Regions from separate parts of the Homo sapiens genome. Here region 2 is linked to region 1. The links are contacts of gene promoters, found by promoter capture Hi-C in human tissues and cell types (Jung and others, 2019). All regions are on one chromosome and are shown on one strand. Each heading gives the region's core, a stretch centred on a gene start or on the middle of the fragment in contact. The rest is flanking DNA. Distances are from core to core; before and after follow the strand shown. Region 1 holds the start of PSMG3 (proteasome assembly chaperone 3). Region 2 overlaps MAD1L1 (mitotic arrest deficient 1 like 1).

Region 1 (7,675 bases), core at 2,398-4,897:
AATTACAATCCTACCAAATCGGCACTTGACTAAGTCTTTGTTGGTTCTACAAATGCACACACCATAGCATTATCACCGACAATTTATTGAATATAAGACAAATTTAAGATACTTTGCTTTTTTTTTCATTTTTCAAAATAACTCCTTGAACTCTTTGCCCCACAATTGGCACCATTACTATTAGATTCCCATTTTATGTGAATGCACTTGAGTGAGTCTTTCTTTCCAGTTCCTTTACCCTTGGGTACTGGAGAACAGTCAATGGCATGCAATGAGGTCCTCTTCCATTCTTCTAGATATATAAATTCTGCCCAGGCATCCATCCAGGCTGCCAGAAAGTCCCTGGACCACCACCTCAGCCTAGGACAACCTTCCACCTCTCATTTCTTTCCTACTGTCTTTATCTTAGATCTAGACCCAAACCACCCAAACAATCCCTCACATAAGTGCTTAGCAGTGTCATCAAAAACAACATCCAGGCTGGGTGCTCACGTCTGTAATCCCAGCACTTTGGGAGGCCGAGGCGGGCAGATCACCTGAGGTCAGGAGATTGAGACCAGCCTGGCCAACATGGCGAAACCCAGTCTCTACTAAAAATACAAAAATTAGCCGGGCGTGGTGGCAGGTGCCTATAATCCTAGCTACTCATGAGGCTGAGGTAGGGGAATCGCTTAAACCTGGGAGGCGGAGGTTGCAGTGAGCCGAGATCGCACCACCGCATTCCGGCCTGGACGACAAGAGCGAGACTCCATCTCAAAAAACGACAACAACAACAAAAATCCATCTTGTTCTTCAACATCCCTTTTTTAAAGGTGATAAGTTTATTTCAGAGGGTTTTCTTTGAGAGGACAGGATCAGATTTCTTGTATCTATTTGCCTACAGAGAGGGAGAATACACAAACAGGTGAATAAAAGCGAGTGAACCTTTTGAAGATTTCAGATGGCAAAGCAATCCACTGGCAATTTGCTTGTGGGGTATGTGTGGGTGGATGTGTGTTTAAATTTAGAGCCGACAGAAACTTAGACTTTCCTGGGAAGTTGATATGCTTCCTGTTTTTTGAGTATTAGAACCATGAAACTCATCATCTCTCCTTTTGTGTACTGGCTGCAAGAATGCTCAAAAATGAATTTCCCCTTGATTTATGTCTATTTTGATCATTTTCTGTATGCATGCTTTTTATTTTAGGCCTCCAGAAATCATCATTGGAAGGAGCATGCTTCATTTGACTTGACTTGGATTGGATACGAAGTCATCAAATGGTGAGAAGAGGGAGTCAAGATCTTCCTTGGAGCTTCAGTGGTGTAAATGTCAGAGGTGTTTGAACCAGAGCAACTTCATCTTGAATAGGGGCTGGGTAAAATGAGGCTGAGATCTGCTGGGCTGCATTCCCAGACAGTTAAGGCATTCTATGTCACAGGATGAGATAAGAGGTCGGCACAAGCTACAGGTCATAAAGACCTTACTGATAAAACAGTTTGCAGTAAAGAAGCTGACCAAAACCCACCAAACCAACATGGCGATGAGTGTGACCTCTGGTCGTCCCAGCTGCTACACTCCCACCAGCGCCGTAAGTTTACAAATGCCATAGCAATGCCAGGACGTTACCCTAAAGGGTTTAAAAAGGTAAGGCACGAATAATCCACCCCTTGTTTAGCATATCATCAAGAAATAACCACAAAAATGGGCAACCAGCAGCCCATGCTGCTCTGCCTATGGAGTAGCCATTCTTTATTCTGTTACTGGTGGAGGGTGTCCAGGTTCTTGGCATCTTGAACAAAGAATTGGACAAAATGCACAAAGCCACCGGGCGCGGTGGCTCACACCTATAATCCCAGCACTTTGGGAGGCCGAGGCGGGCAGATCACCTGAGGTCAGGAGTTCAAGACCAGCCTGGCCAACATGGCGAAACCTCGTCTCTACTAAAAACACAAAAGTTAGCCGGGCATGGTGACGCACGTCTGTAATCTCAGCTACTCAGGAGGCTGAGGCAGGAGAATTGCTTGAACCCGGGAGGCAGAGGTTGCAGTGAGGATCACGCCACTGCACTCCAGCATGGACAACAGAGACTCTGTCTCAAAAAAAAAAAAATGCACAAAGCAAAAAAAGAATGAAGCAACAAAAGCAGAAATTTTTTGAAAATGAAAGTACATTCCATGGTGTGGGGGCGGCCAAAGCATAGAGGCTCAGGGCCCCATTACAGAACTTGTGAGGTTTAAATACCCTCTAGGGGTTTCTACTGGTTACTTGGTGTACGCCCTATGTAAATAAAGAGGATGAAATAAAGTTACAAAATCATTTACTCAGTGTACACCCTATGGAGAGGGTATTTCCTGTCATAGCTGAAGTGTTCCCTGCCTCCAGACCCTGTTTTCCTGCCTCAATTCCTTTACTTTTCTAATAAACTTGCTTTCACTTTGTGGACTCGCCCTCAATTCTCTCTTGGGGTCTGGATCGGGACCCCTTTCTGGTAATATAGACAGAAAATACGGCCTTGACATGGTTGTCAGGAAACGACAGTAAGGCCTCCGAGGGTGGGGTTCTGAAGGGATGTTAAACGCCCCACCCCGAGGAAGGCTCTGGAGGCTCCAATCACTTTCAGCCTCTGCTACCAAGATGTCCGACCCTACCAATAAAACTTCCAGCAGCGGGGCGCGGTGGCTCACGCCTGTAATCCCAGCACTTTGGGAGGCCGAGGAAGGCAGATCACCTGAGGTCAGGAGTTCAAGACCAGCCTGACCGACATGGTGAAACCCCATCTCTACTAAAAATTTAAAAAGTTAGCCGGGCCTGGTGGCGCACGCCTGTAATCCCAGCTACACAGGAGGCTGAGGCAGGAGAATTGCTTGAACCAGGGAGGCGGAGGCTGCAGTGAGCCGAGATCGCGCCACTGCACTCCAGCCTGGGTGACACAGCAAGACTCCGTCTCAAACAAAACAAAACAAAAAACCTTCCAGCTTGGAGAAACTGAGAGTGAGCAGTAGGGAGTGAGGGGGTCCCTGGGAGGAACCAGAACTCATCCCGCTTCAGGGTGGGGCTGGCCCCCTTCTTGGCCTTGGCCGGGGCTTCGTGTCACGGAGCGCCCGAGGGACGGTCGGAGCCCACCCCAGCCCGCCCGCCGCCTGAGCCTGGCCGAGCTCTCTGCACCTGCACACGTCTGTAAAACGCGGATGAAACGCTTCTACGGAACCGGGTGGCTGAGATGAAGTGAGTTATGGGTATAAAGCGCTTAGAGCGATGCCTGGCGGACACTCGGTGCCAAATAAGCGTTCGCTGTGGCGACGATGACGCCTCCAGCCCAAAGCCCGTGGTCGAGCAGGGCCGGGCTCCCAGCGCTAGGGGGTTCCTAGGCGCGGCGCTTCGGGGGTCCTGGACACAGACACGGGGGACAGAGCTCCTACCAGCGACGATCCCGAGGGTCTGCAGCAGAGGGGCTGAGGCCCGGGACGGGGGTGGTCGCAGCGCCCTTTCCTGAAAAAACGGGGTTCGGCTCTAAGGCGCCCCCAAGCCCTGCCGGCAGCGCGGAACCCGAGCCGCTCAGAAGCCCGGGAGCCCCAAGTCTCCGGGACCAGAAGCGCCGCGGCCCTGACTTCCGGAAGGTGGACGGAACCCGCGGACGGGGCGGGCCCGCGTGGCGCACGCAGAGCCACTTCCGGGCGCGGCGCCGGCTTGGTGAGCGCGGGTACCCGCGGGCTTCCCCGGGCGGCTGCGTCCCCAGTAGCCCGGCCGGCCTCGGCACCGCGTGTCGTGGGGGTCCCGGGCCGCGGCTGCAGGGCCGGGGCGGCGGCGAGGCCGAGGGGCGGGAAGCCACTGCCCGGCCTGGCAGTGTGAACGTGCAAGTCGATCCCCTAACCCAGAAAGCCCCAGGCGCGGTCTCTATGGGCGGCCCCGCTCCTGCTTCTGTTTTATTTTTTTACGGACAGGGTCTCGCTCTACCGCCCGGGTTGTAATGCAATGGTGTGATCACGGCTCACCGCAGCCTCGACCTCCCGGGCTGAAGCGATCTTCCCGCCTCAGCCTCCTGAGTAACTGGGACCACAGGCGCGCCCTGCTGGTTTTTTTTTTTTTTTTTTTTGGTAGAGATGGGGGTCTCGCTATGTTGGCCAGGCTGGTCTCGAATTCCTGGCCTCAACGATCGTCCTGTCTCGGCCTCCCAAAGTGCCGGGATGACAGGCATGAGCCACCGCGCCTGGCCCCTTCTTTTGAATGGGCCTCCTTGCGTTTCCGTTTCAATGCCCCGTGCTACTTTTTTGGGAGCCCCAAGGCTGTACTGTTTGATTGACTCCTTTTTTTCCCCTTTCTTTTTAACCTAAATTAAAGCTGCCACTGCAGAGCCCCGCCATGGAAGACACGCCGTTGGTGATATCGAAGCAGAAGACGGAGGTGGTGTGCGGGGTCCCCACCCAGGTGGTGTGTACGGCCTTCAGCAGTCACATCCTGGTGGTGGTGACCCAGTTTGGGAAGATGGGCACCCTGGTCTCCCTGGAGCCCAGCAGCGTGGCCAGTGACGTCAGCAAGCCTGTGCTCACCACAAAAGTCCTTCTGGGGCAGGATGAGGTAAAGTGGATTGGCCGGGAACTGTGGCTCACGCCTGTAACCCTAGCACTTTCAGAGGCCTAGGCGGGCAGATCGCTTGAGGCCAGGAGTTTGAAACCAGCCTGGGCAACACAACAACACACACACAAGTCACTACAAAAAAACAAGTGCCTACACAAAATATATATATAGAGAGAGGCTGGGTGCAGTGGCTCACACCTGTAATCCCAGCACTTTGGGAGGCTGAGGCGGGCAGATCACTTAAGGTCAGAAGTTCCAGACCAGCCTGGCCAACATGGGGAAACCCCATTTCTACGAAAAATATAAAAATTAGCTGGGTGTGGTGGCACATGCCTGTAATCTCAGCTACTCAGGAGGCTGAGGCAGAAGAATCGCTTGAACCCGAGAGGCGGAGGTTGCAGTGAGCTAAGATCGTGCCACAGCACTCCAGCCTGGGTAACAGATAGAGACTTGGTCTTAAAAAAAAAAGGAAAAGAAAAGGAAACAAAAAATTAGCTGGGCCTAGTGGTGTGTGCCTGTGCTCCCAGCTACTTGGGAGGCTGAGGTGGGAGGATGGCTTGAGCCCTGGAGGTTGAGGCTGCAGTGAGCCATGATTGTGCCACTGCGCTCCAGCCTGGGTGAGAGAGCAAGACTCTGTCTTTAATAATAATAATAATAATAATAATAATAAAGTGGTCAGGAAGGGACCCCCAGGGAGGAGCATAAACCTCTCCAGTGGCTGTGATTTGTCAGTAAGGACATGGGGCATCTGGCGGACAAATACCCCTACAGCGATAGCATTTTCCGGGCATTTGTGGGTCTCAAGGCGCCCTGCTTGCCCTCAGTGGATGCTTTGTCCAGCCCGCAGGCATTTTATCCAGCAGACAAGCAGAAGCAGCAGTTTTGTCATTCGAGCCGCCTCCCCTGCCATGGTACATTACGTGAGCAGGCGGCTGGCTGTGCTGTGCTCTGTGGAGATCACACGTGAGATTCGACAGCACTCGCTTCTGCAGGCTTCTCTTTCCTGGGTTCTTTTAGATGAGAGAGAGCCAGAAGAGGCGGGGCTGCGGAAGGCGCTGGGAAAATGAATGGAGTGATGGTCTTTAGCAGTGTGCCCGTGACTGGAGTGTTCTGAGTGCTGCCAGAACTCTGAGTCACAGTTGCATGGACTTATGTGGCGGTTAATGGTGGTGTGGGAAGCCTGCCTGGGTTCCTAAGGGATACTTCATGAAAGCATTGAGGAAAAAACCAGGTTTCTTGCAGTTAAAATGGTTTCTTCTCCTTCCTTTACCAGCCTCTCATCCATGTCTTTGCAAAGAACCTGGTAGCGTTTGTGTCTCAAGAAGCTGGAAACAGAGCAGTCCTCCTCGCCGTGGCCGTGAAGGACAAAAGCATGGAGGGGCTGAAGGCGCTGAGGGAGGTGATCCGGGTGTGCCAGGTGTGGTGACCTGGAGGCAGCCGCCCCGCGCTGCTCAGCAGGACACGTGAACACCCAGACACCCACTCAGGGACTCAAGTCTCACCTCCCTCCCCGGTGGAGGGAGGAACTTTGGCACTAGCCCTTGGAGCCAGGAAAAAAGACTCGTGTCTCAGGCAGACTCTTACTCTGGTTACTAAGATCATCTGTGCATGACGGGGAGGGTGGAACAGGTCCCGGAGGAGTCGTGAATGGTTCTCACCAGGACCTGAATCGTTGCTTGTGTTTGAGAATTGGAGGAATGAGTCAGCAGGCGTGGCTCATGGCCCCCCCGTGTGCAGGATCAATTGTAGGAGGAAATTTCTTTTTTATTAAAAGCGAATGTGTATCCCAAAATACTTCACTGTCCTCCTTAACAGTAGCGAGACATTGCAGCCGCACAGCATGAGTTCAGTTTCATGGGCTTCATGAAGGGAAGCTTGTTGGGCAGAAACGCAGAGGGACGTAGTTCCCAGGAACTGGGTGGATCCCATGCTTGGGCCTGTGCACGCTGTCACCCAGCTCCAACTCCAGTAACTTCTCTGAGCCTGCTGGGAAGCTGGTGGCCGTCAGCGGACATCTCTTACTATCTTAATGTGTGTGCCCGTTACCGTGCTGCAGCTGGGGACAGACGCTGTCCTCTGAATCCTGCATAGCAAGGGAGGGGGGACGCTTCTGTCAAGGGAGCAGCGTGCACAGAGGTCAGGAGAGAGGAGCACGGGAGGGCAGGGCACTGTGGGGTGGGTCGCCAGGGTTCACTGGGGTGTGGCTGAACATGACCTCCGTGTGGGGGTAGGCGCGGGTCCTTCTGGGCTGAGGCTGCAGGACTTAGTCTTGTGGGGAGCAGTGTTGGCAGGCGTGGGCCTCAGGGTGGCATTTACAGCCCTGATAAGTGGCAGCCTGGGCCCCGCCTGGCTCTCCCTCCAGCCACTGCGAGGGACGCTTCGCTGATCCTGCCTGAGTTGGGATTTCTGAGGCTGGAAGTCGGAGCTTTGGACCCCTTCACTCTGACAGTCTCACGAGAAACAGCAGCAACTGGAGAGCTGGGTTGGGTGACCGGATCCCGAAGCGGAAACCAGGCGAGGCTCTGGAGCGAAGTGAGCGCCCAGTGGGCCCTTCCAGGGAGTTGGGGGTTTACTGCCTTAGGTACCTGTAAACAAACGGGCATAGGGTGTGTGTGGAATCAGAAAGGAATATTCCCCTTTTTCTTTTTCTTTCTTTTTTTTTTTTTTTAAATGGAGACTGGTCTCTGTGTTGCCCAGGCTGGTCTCAGAACTCCTGGCCTCAAGTGATCCTGCCACCTCAGCCTCCCAAAGTGGTAGGATCACAGGCATGCATCCTGCTCATTTCTTTCCTTTTTCTTCTTCTTCTTTTTTTTTTAATTGTCACGCCTATTACCCCATTCTGAACCCCTGCTTGTTTCTTTTTTTTTTTTTAAGGCAGAGTCTCCTTCTGTCACCCAGGCTGGAGCGCAGTGGTGCAATCTCAGCTCACTGCAACCTCCGCCTCCCGGGTTCAAATGAGTCTCAGCCTCCCGAGTGGCTGGGACTGTAGGTGTGCACCACCACGTTTGGCTAATTTTTTGTATTTTTTGGTAGAGACCGGGTTTCACCATATTGTTCAGGCTGGTCTGGAACTCCTGACCTCAGATGATCCACCCTCCTCAGCCTCCCAAAGTGCTGGGA
Region 2 (7,675 bases), core at 3,445-5,944, 460 kb before region 1:
CAGTAGTAAGATCAGAGACCACCCATTACAGACCACAACAGATATAATAGTGATACAATGTCTGAAACGCCATGAGGATTACCAGATGTGACAGAGCCGTGTAGGGAGCACATGCTGTTGGGAACATGGTGCCTCGCCGAAGGCAGGACGGCCACAAGCCTTCCATTTGTAAGAAGCACAGTATCTGTGTAGTCCAGGAGAGCAAGGCGTGCCTGGGTCCATGCTGGCTCCTTATTGTGGCCAGCACACTGTGCTCGTGTAAGATGTTAACAGTGGGGCACCTGGGTGTGGAATATGTGAAAAGTCTCTACCATCTTCTCCATTCTTCTAAATCTAAACCCGTTCTAAAAAAAAAAAAAAAAAAGAAGAGTCTATTAAGAAGACAAAGAAGGAGCCGAAATTTCCACGTGGCAGAAGGCACTGGAACCGGTGAGATCTGATGTGTACCTGGGCCTGATCCACGTTTGCTGCATGGCTGGACACCTTCGTGGGCGCGTGGAAGCTCATGCTGTGGGGGGAGCTGTGGGAGGAGCATGCGGCAGGTGGAGGTCTTCTGCGCGTGGGTGGGCACGCGGAAGCTCGTGCTGTGGGGGGAGCTGTGGGAGGAGTGCTGGAGGAGCCCTGGGAGGAGTGTTCAGGAGGCGGAGCGTGCCTCGTGCGCGTTGGTGGGTATGAGTGGCGTTGGTGGGATCTAGCTGACCACCTCCCACCTGGTTGGTCTGCATCTGTAGACAGCTTAGTTCTTAGGATTCTAGGTACCCAGTGTCATTTCCGACACCTGCTTGGGCTCCCTGTACTGCCAGGGCTGTTGAGTCTTTACAGCACCTCTGATCAGGAGCCCTGGCCTTGGGGAGGTGGGACAGGCACACGTCTGGGTTGCTGGGTTGCCTTTAGGGGTAAGCTCTTCCTTTTGTCTTCTGTTCAAAAGAGGGCCCACAGTGGATTCAGGCCTCTGATTTACCACTGCCTGGAGCTTGGGGAATGCTCTCCAGTGACAACCTGGGCTTCCGTGGGATTTAATTTTGATATATTGGCCTTTGTGTGTAGGAAGAGTCCAAACTCACGACCGGATGGATTGTCCTCCTCAGACTAGACACTTCATCCAGAGAGGACTCTGAGCCAACCCTAAGGGATTCAGGCTGGAGCTCTGGTTCCCCGCACGGAGGTGGCGCAGGAATGCATCGTCCTCCCCTGTCCTGACTTGTCAGCGCTCCTGCGCTCATGCCTGGGAGCCTGGACCCCAGCTCTGTCCCGACTTGTCAGTGCTCCCGCGCTCATGCCTGGGAGCCTGGACCCCAGCTCTGTCCCGACTTGTCAGTGCTCCCGCGCTCATGCCTGGGAGCCTGGACCCCAGCTCTGTCCCGACTTGTCAGTGCTCCCGCGCTCATGCCTGGGAGCCTGGACCCCAGCTCTGTCCCCACTTGTCAGTGCTCCCGCGCTCATGCCTGGGAGCCTGGACCCCAGCTCTGTCCCAACTTGTCAGTGCTCCCGCGCTCATGCCTGGGAGCCTGGACCCCAGCTCTGTCCCGACTTGTCAGTGCTCCCGCGCTCATGCCTGGGAGCCTGGACCCCAGCTCTGTCCCGACTTGTCAGTGCTCCCGCGCTCATGCCTGGGAGCCTGGACCCCAGCTCTGTCCCGACTTGTCAGTGCTCCCGCGCTCATGCCTGGGAGCCTGGACCCCAGCTCTGTCCCGACTTGTCAGTGCTCCCGCGCTCATGCCTGGGAGCCTGGACCCCAGCTCTGTCCCGACTTGTCAGTGCTCCCGCGCTCATGCCTGGGAGCCTGGACCCCAGCTCTGTCCCGACTTGTCAGTGCTCCCGCGCTCATGCCTGGGAGCCTGGACCCCAGCTCTGTCCCGACTTGTCAGTGCTCCCGCGCTCATGCCTGGGAGCCTGGACCCCAGCTCTGTCCCCACTTGTCAGTGCTCCCGCGCTCATGCCTGGGAGCCTGGACCCCAGCTCTGTCCCGACTTGTCAGTGCTCCCGCGCTCATGCCTGGGAGCCTGGACCCCAGCTCTGTCCCGACTTGTCAGTGCTCCCGCGCTCATGCCTGGGAGCCTGGACCCCAGCTCTGTCCCGACTTGTCAGTGCTCCCGCGCTCATGCCTGGGAGCCTGGACCCCAGCTCTGTCCCGACTTGTCAGTGCTCCCGCGCTCATGCCTGGGAGCCTGGACCCCAGCTCTGTCCCGACTTGTCAGTGCTCCCGCGCTCATGCCTGGGAGCCTGGACCCCAGCTCTGTCCCGACTTGTCAGTGCTCCTGCGCTCATGCCTGGGAGCCTGGACCCCAGCTCTGTCCCGACTTGTCAGCGCTCCCGCGCTCATGCCTGGGAGCCTGGACTCCGGTTTACATTTCTCAGCGTGTCCTTGGGCTGTGTGTGGTCTGCGTGTCCCTGGGGTTGTCTGTGGGGTCATGTGGCCCCTCTGGGCTGCCTGGTTTCCTTTTCTCCCACATCGTGTCTGGCATTTCTTTATTCAGAAATGAGGCATCTGTTGTTGGCTTCCCTGTGGAGTTTGTGTCCCTCCCTGAGCTCCCGCCTCTGTGGGGCCAGCCCCAGTGTGGACTTGTGGCCCCCTGTGCTGCTGGGCCTCAGGTTTGGGTCTGCGGAGTACATGGGTGTGAGTGCTCTGACCACTGGACTCTTAAAACATGCAGCCCTCTTTGACTGTGACACTGGACATGTGCAAAGCTTGGGGACTGATCAAAAAGTATAAAGAGGCCATTGAAAAAGACCTTGACTCCTGCACCCAGAGGTAGCACCAAGAACATGGCATGCATTTCATCTCCACGTCTCCCTTCTCTCCTTTCCTCCCCTGTTCATTCATTCAGCCAATCTATCAGCCAACCAGTAAGCACTCACGGACACCCACGTGCGCAGGTGCCATGGAGGCAGCCGAGTGTGGGGACTGCTGTGGCAGAGCTGGCAGCCTTGTGTGCTTCCTGCACTTGTGACATTTTATTGCAGCCAGTGCCTGTGCCATTAAGCATTCCTTGAAAATAAAATCTTTTTTGGCTGTACGATGTTTCTTCGTGTAGACATACCAAAAGTAAACTCTTGGCCGGCTGCGGTGGCTCATGCCTGTAATCCTAGCACTTTGGGAGGCTGAGACGGGTGGATTGCCTGAGCTCAGGAGTTCGGACCAGCCTGGGCAACACGGTGAAACCCCGTCTCTACTAAAATACAAAAAATTAGCTGGGCGTGGTGGTGTGTGCCTGTAGTCCCACCTACTCAGGAGGCTGAGGCAGGAGAATCGCTTGAACCCGGGAGACAAAGGTTGCTGTGAGCCTAGATCACACCATTGCACTCCAGCCTGGGCGACAGCGAGACTCCGTCTCCAAAAAAAAAAAAAAGGAGACTCTTTATTGGAAATTTAGCTTTGTTTTTAATTTTTTCATGATTATTGCTAATGTGTGCAACATCCTTGGACTCAGTGCTTTCCCCATATCTGATTCATTTGTTATTTATTTATTTGTTTAGACACAGGGTCTTGCTCTGTCGCCCAGGCTGCAATGTGGTGGCGCCATCTTGGCTCACTGCAGTCTTGAACTCCAGGGCTCAATATATCCTCCTGCCTGAGCCTCCCCAGTAGCTGGGACTATAGGTGCATGCCGCCCCGCCTGGCTAATTAAAAAAAAATTTTTTTTGTAGAGATGGGGTCTCACTATGTTGCCCAGGCTGGTCTCAGGTGATTCTCCTGCCTCGGCCTCTCACAGTGCTGGGATTGCAGGTGTGAGCCACCGCAGTCTGATTACTTTTTAGGCAATTGTTACTGAGTGGAAGGGTGTGAACACCTTCAGGACCCTTGGCCAGTTTTGCTGACTCGTTTTCCAGAAGCGCCCGTGACTGCTGTCCCAGCAGGTGTAGCGTGCAGCCCTCATGGCCTCACTCGTGCTGAGTGTTAGCATTTTACTTCTTGCCACTCCAGGTGAGGAACGGGTCTTAATGAATTTTGTGTTTGTCAGTTACGTTTCTTCTGTTGATTGTTGATTTTTCCCAGTTTTCTATTACCGTGTTAGTGATTTTCCTATTGATTTGTAAAAGGTTTTCATGTATTTGTGGCACGTTTTCCCCAGTTTGTCTTTTACCTTTTGTGTTTTTAAGTGGCGTTTTGGGACCCACGGAGGTGTTGGTGTGGCGAAGCGTGCTGGTCTTTCTCTGTCATTCCTTCCACTGCTTCGGGGCCCACAGCCTTTCAGGGCCTTGCTCCATGGAGTATCCATCTTGTTTCCTTTAGTTCTAGTGCAGTGAAGCAGGCGAGGGCAGGGGTGACCGGGTCATCTGGGCTGGTTCAAACTGGGGCTCCGCACCCAGGTGTTCTGTGCCCCCGGGGTGCGTTACTCACACCTGCAGCACCCGGGCTGTCTCTGTGAGAATGGGATGATCGAAGGGCCCACCTCCTGGCCAGCACAGGGCCTGGCACGTGGTGCCTGGCTGGCGAGTGTATGAGTGGGGTGCTGGGCTGGGAGCGTGAGCTCTCGGAGTTCTGCGTCTGTTTATCATGGCCAGTCAGTGGCAGCGTCAGCTGGGTGTCCTCAGCCCACGCTGCTGTACCCCAAGAAGGCAGTAGACACGTGATACCAGTGGGCTGGGGGCATCTTCTCAGCTGGTGCCCTCTCCACGTCCTTCTGCGGGGGCGCCTTGCCCCCCTGCCCCATGCACACTCTCCCTGTGTGCAGAGTGGGTCTTCCTTCCTGGTGTGGGGCTCCCTGAGTGCCCTGCCTGTCCTCGCCTGTTCTTACAGTGCTCACGTCTGCCTCCCTCTCCAGGCTGAGTTCTGGGAGAGCAGGCCGGCGCCACCCCCCTCACCACTTGCTAGGAGCTGGCCTGACCCTGGTGGGAGCCCACAGCCCTGGGCGCGAATTCAAAATGCCAGAAGCAGCACAGGGTCCCTCGAGCCTGGTGGGAGGTACTTCCCATGGGCGAGTCATCTTGTTTTGAATTCTCCTCATGCTGATTTCTGGCCCCACTCAGCCCAGCACAGCTCTGAAGGAGACGAAGGCAAGGCCAGCTCTCCCCAGCTGAGATGAGCTTTCAGTTGAGGAAGGACCCTGATGTCAGAGCTGTTTGGGTAATGGCCTGCCCCTGGCCATGGATGTGCACCAAATCTTTTCAGGACTCGTGGGGTCACTGCTGCCCGGGGGCTTTAGGTAGCTATTAGAGCCCAGGGCTGGGCAAGCGCTTTCCCACCTGCCCGTTAGCATGATGGCCAAGAGCCCAGGCTCGGCTTCACGGAGGCTGGAGACCTGGGGCGCGCGCCTTCCCCTGGAGCCTTGTCCTCATCTGAAAGGGAGGACTCCAGCCTGCCTCAGGAGGTGGTTCCGAGGACTGATTGGCTGATGGTTTCACTCGTTCATTTTTTAATTGAACACACAGTTCCTGAGCACCTGTTCTGTTCCAGGCACTGGACAGGGACTGGGGCCGGGCGTCCCGCATGAATGAGGGGTCAGGGAGCTGATGCATGGAAACTCCTTGGCACAAGGCCCGGAGTGTGCCTGGCACCCTGGGCACTGGCTGCCTGCCTGTTACCCGTCGGTGGAGAAAGCCACCTAGACTTTGCAGCACTGTAAGATTTTTGAACTGTAGAAGACCAAGTCCATCTAATTCCCTGTTTTGCTGATAGGAACGCTGGAGGCCTAGAGAGGAAAGGAACCCGTCTGACTGCTCAGGCTGAGTAGTGGCCCCAGAGCCGTGACTCCACTGTGCTGTCTGTTTCCCACGTTGCCCTGCTCTCCTTTCTCCCTGTCCTGTCAAATAAACTGCACTCAAAATAGAGCCATGCGGCACAGGGCCTGTCTCAGGCCCATGGCCCCATATCCGCGTGGGTCAGGCATGCTGGCGAGACCTTGCGAGGGTCACGTCCTCCTCCCTGGTGAGGGGCCGTCTGCAGCCACTGTGGCTTGGGTATGGCTTCCTGTCAGGATGGTCCCAGTGCCCTCCCAGATGTGCACGGCACCCACGTCGTCATAGCGCAGGTGTGAGCAGCTGCTGTAACAAGGCTGGTGCTGGTTCAGGTGGATGCTGGGGAATGCATTTATACAGCGAACACAAATGAAGTGGAATTTGTCATAGAGCAGTGTGAAATGTAAGTAAAATTGCCTCGGGAAATCATAATTGATTCCACTCCTTCCTACAATAGGTGTTGTAGAGCTTTTTATCAGAGGTTGAAATTGTAAAAACCAGGCTTGCTGGTGGGGAGCCCAGAACAGCCCCTTTTCCCCCTCCCCCACAGCTACACGTGGGTGGTGGAGGCCAGTGGGGAGGGTGTGACGGCAGGAAGCCAGAGGAGGAGCTGGCTGAGGGTAACCCCAAGACAGCTGTGGGGCAGGGAAGGGAGCGTGCTCTGTGTGCCTGGTGCAGCTGCAGGCAGAGGGGTGAGTAGTGGGAGAGGACCCCGTGCTTCCTCTCTGAGCGGCCTGGTGTTCAGCCTCCTGCTGCCTTCAGGAGAGCTCGCGTAGGTGCAGTTCATGGAGAATGCACAGCTGGCTGCTGGAGGGAGGATGCTGCTGAAGGCTGGGGACCGTTTTTTCTCCTGGGGGCTCCTCCGAATCCAGTCGCCCAGCAGAAATAGAGCTTTGTCAACAGTAAACCGGGTTTATTGGTCAGATAAGATAACCTTGTAATGAGACTTGTGGAACTTGAGGCAAAAATGAGGAAGAACAGAGAGGATGGAATGGGAACAAGGGAGAGACATGGTATCATCAAGCTCTGAGCAAGGTTGGCCGAGAGCACCAGGCGCAGGTTGGGGGCTGAGGAGGACAGAAACGCGTCTGACAGCAGGGCGCCTCCCACGGGGCCCCGGAAACCCTCGCTGACCCACAGTATTGCCCTTCAAAACCTGGTCATTGGTGCCCATTACAGAGAACCCTTTCATCGGGAAAAGAGACCGTTTCTCCTCATTCTCAGTTTCCTCTGCCGGGGCGGCGTCTGGTTTGTTTTGGAGGCATTTTCGTCAAGCGCAGATGGGCAGGTTCCACTCCTGCGGGGTCCGGCCACCTGTCACTGGCGCCCTGGCTTACCCAGGGGCCTCTGCACATCAAGGCTGTTCAGGGGCCCGCGTGTAACAGGCTCTAATTAGCGTAAGCAAGTGAATTAGCCTTATCTGTTCATGAAAGAAGTGAAGCAAGAAATGCATTTGGTGACACTTTGTCAGTGCTTTGTTCGAGCTGCTATACGGAAATTATTAATAGTAGAATTGCATTCTGTTACAATCGCCCTCTAATTCAGTCACCATCCATTGAACTGGACTTTTTACCCAGTTAGCAAGGTAATGAGTTTGGATGACTCTGAAAACTTTGTGACCTCCACCCCGGGCGTCACTGTGGGCTGGGGGAACCTCCTCAGGCTGTGTGTGGACCTTCCGTGGAGCGCGGGGCGGGGCGTAGCGGACATGCACCTGTACACAGCTCTGGGTTCCGCGTTTCTGGGGCACTCTCTGCCAGCCAGGGGTGCCCTGCAGAAATGAGGCTAGGATTACACGGGGAGCAGCTTGGGCCAAAGACTCGATTTCCATCTGCTCCCTGAATGTGGTGAGCCCGGTGTCCACAGGACTGTGTAGGAGGGGACAGCCAGCATCTGCCCTTTCCAGAGACCTTTCTCCTGGCACTCGTGTCTGGGCGCTAGGGATGATCTTGTTTCTGTTCCTTGGATTTTTACTTCTCTTCAGCTCCATCTGAAG

Evidence for each region. Contacts are between HindIII fragments. The study calls those that stand out against the background at their distance.
Region 2: a contact is called between a fragment that was not itself captured here and the fragment with the promoter of PSMG3 in region 1, in 1 of the 25 tissues and cell types used here (spleen).

What each region holds. Positions count from the first base shown.
Region 1 is chr7:1,566,004-1,573,678 of GRCh38, reverse strand. It overlaps PSMG3 (proteasome assembly chaperone 3), which reads left to right and starts at 3,647. Exons shown (of 2, transcript NM_032302.4): 1 at 3,647-4,555; 2 at 5,829-6,347. The coding sequence starts at 4,340. The coding sequence ends at 5,981. It overlaps PSMG3-AS1 (PSMG3 antisense RNA 1), which reads right to left and starts at 3,606. Exons shown (of 5, transcript NR_027329.1): 1 at 3,400-3,606. RefSeq lists enhancers at 2,596-2,645, 2,656-2,725, 3,349-3,917, 5,624-6,192, 6,072-6,366 and 1 more and silencers at 3,026-3,105, 3,546-3,975. The HindIII fragment of the contact is 18,965 bases long and covers 2,691-7,675 here.
Region 2 is chr7:2,029,897-2,037,571 of GRCh38, reverse strand. All of the region lies in intron 12 of MAD1L1 (mitotic arrest deficient 1 like 1), which reads left to right. Among named protein-coding and RNA genes, the nearest start is that of SNORA114, 55 kb to the left of the region's middle. RefSeq lists enhancers at 4,117-4,796, 5,479-6,160. The HindIII fragment of the contact is 6,845 bases long and covers 1,272-7,675 here.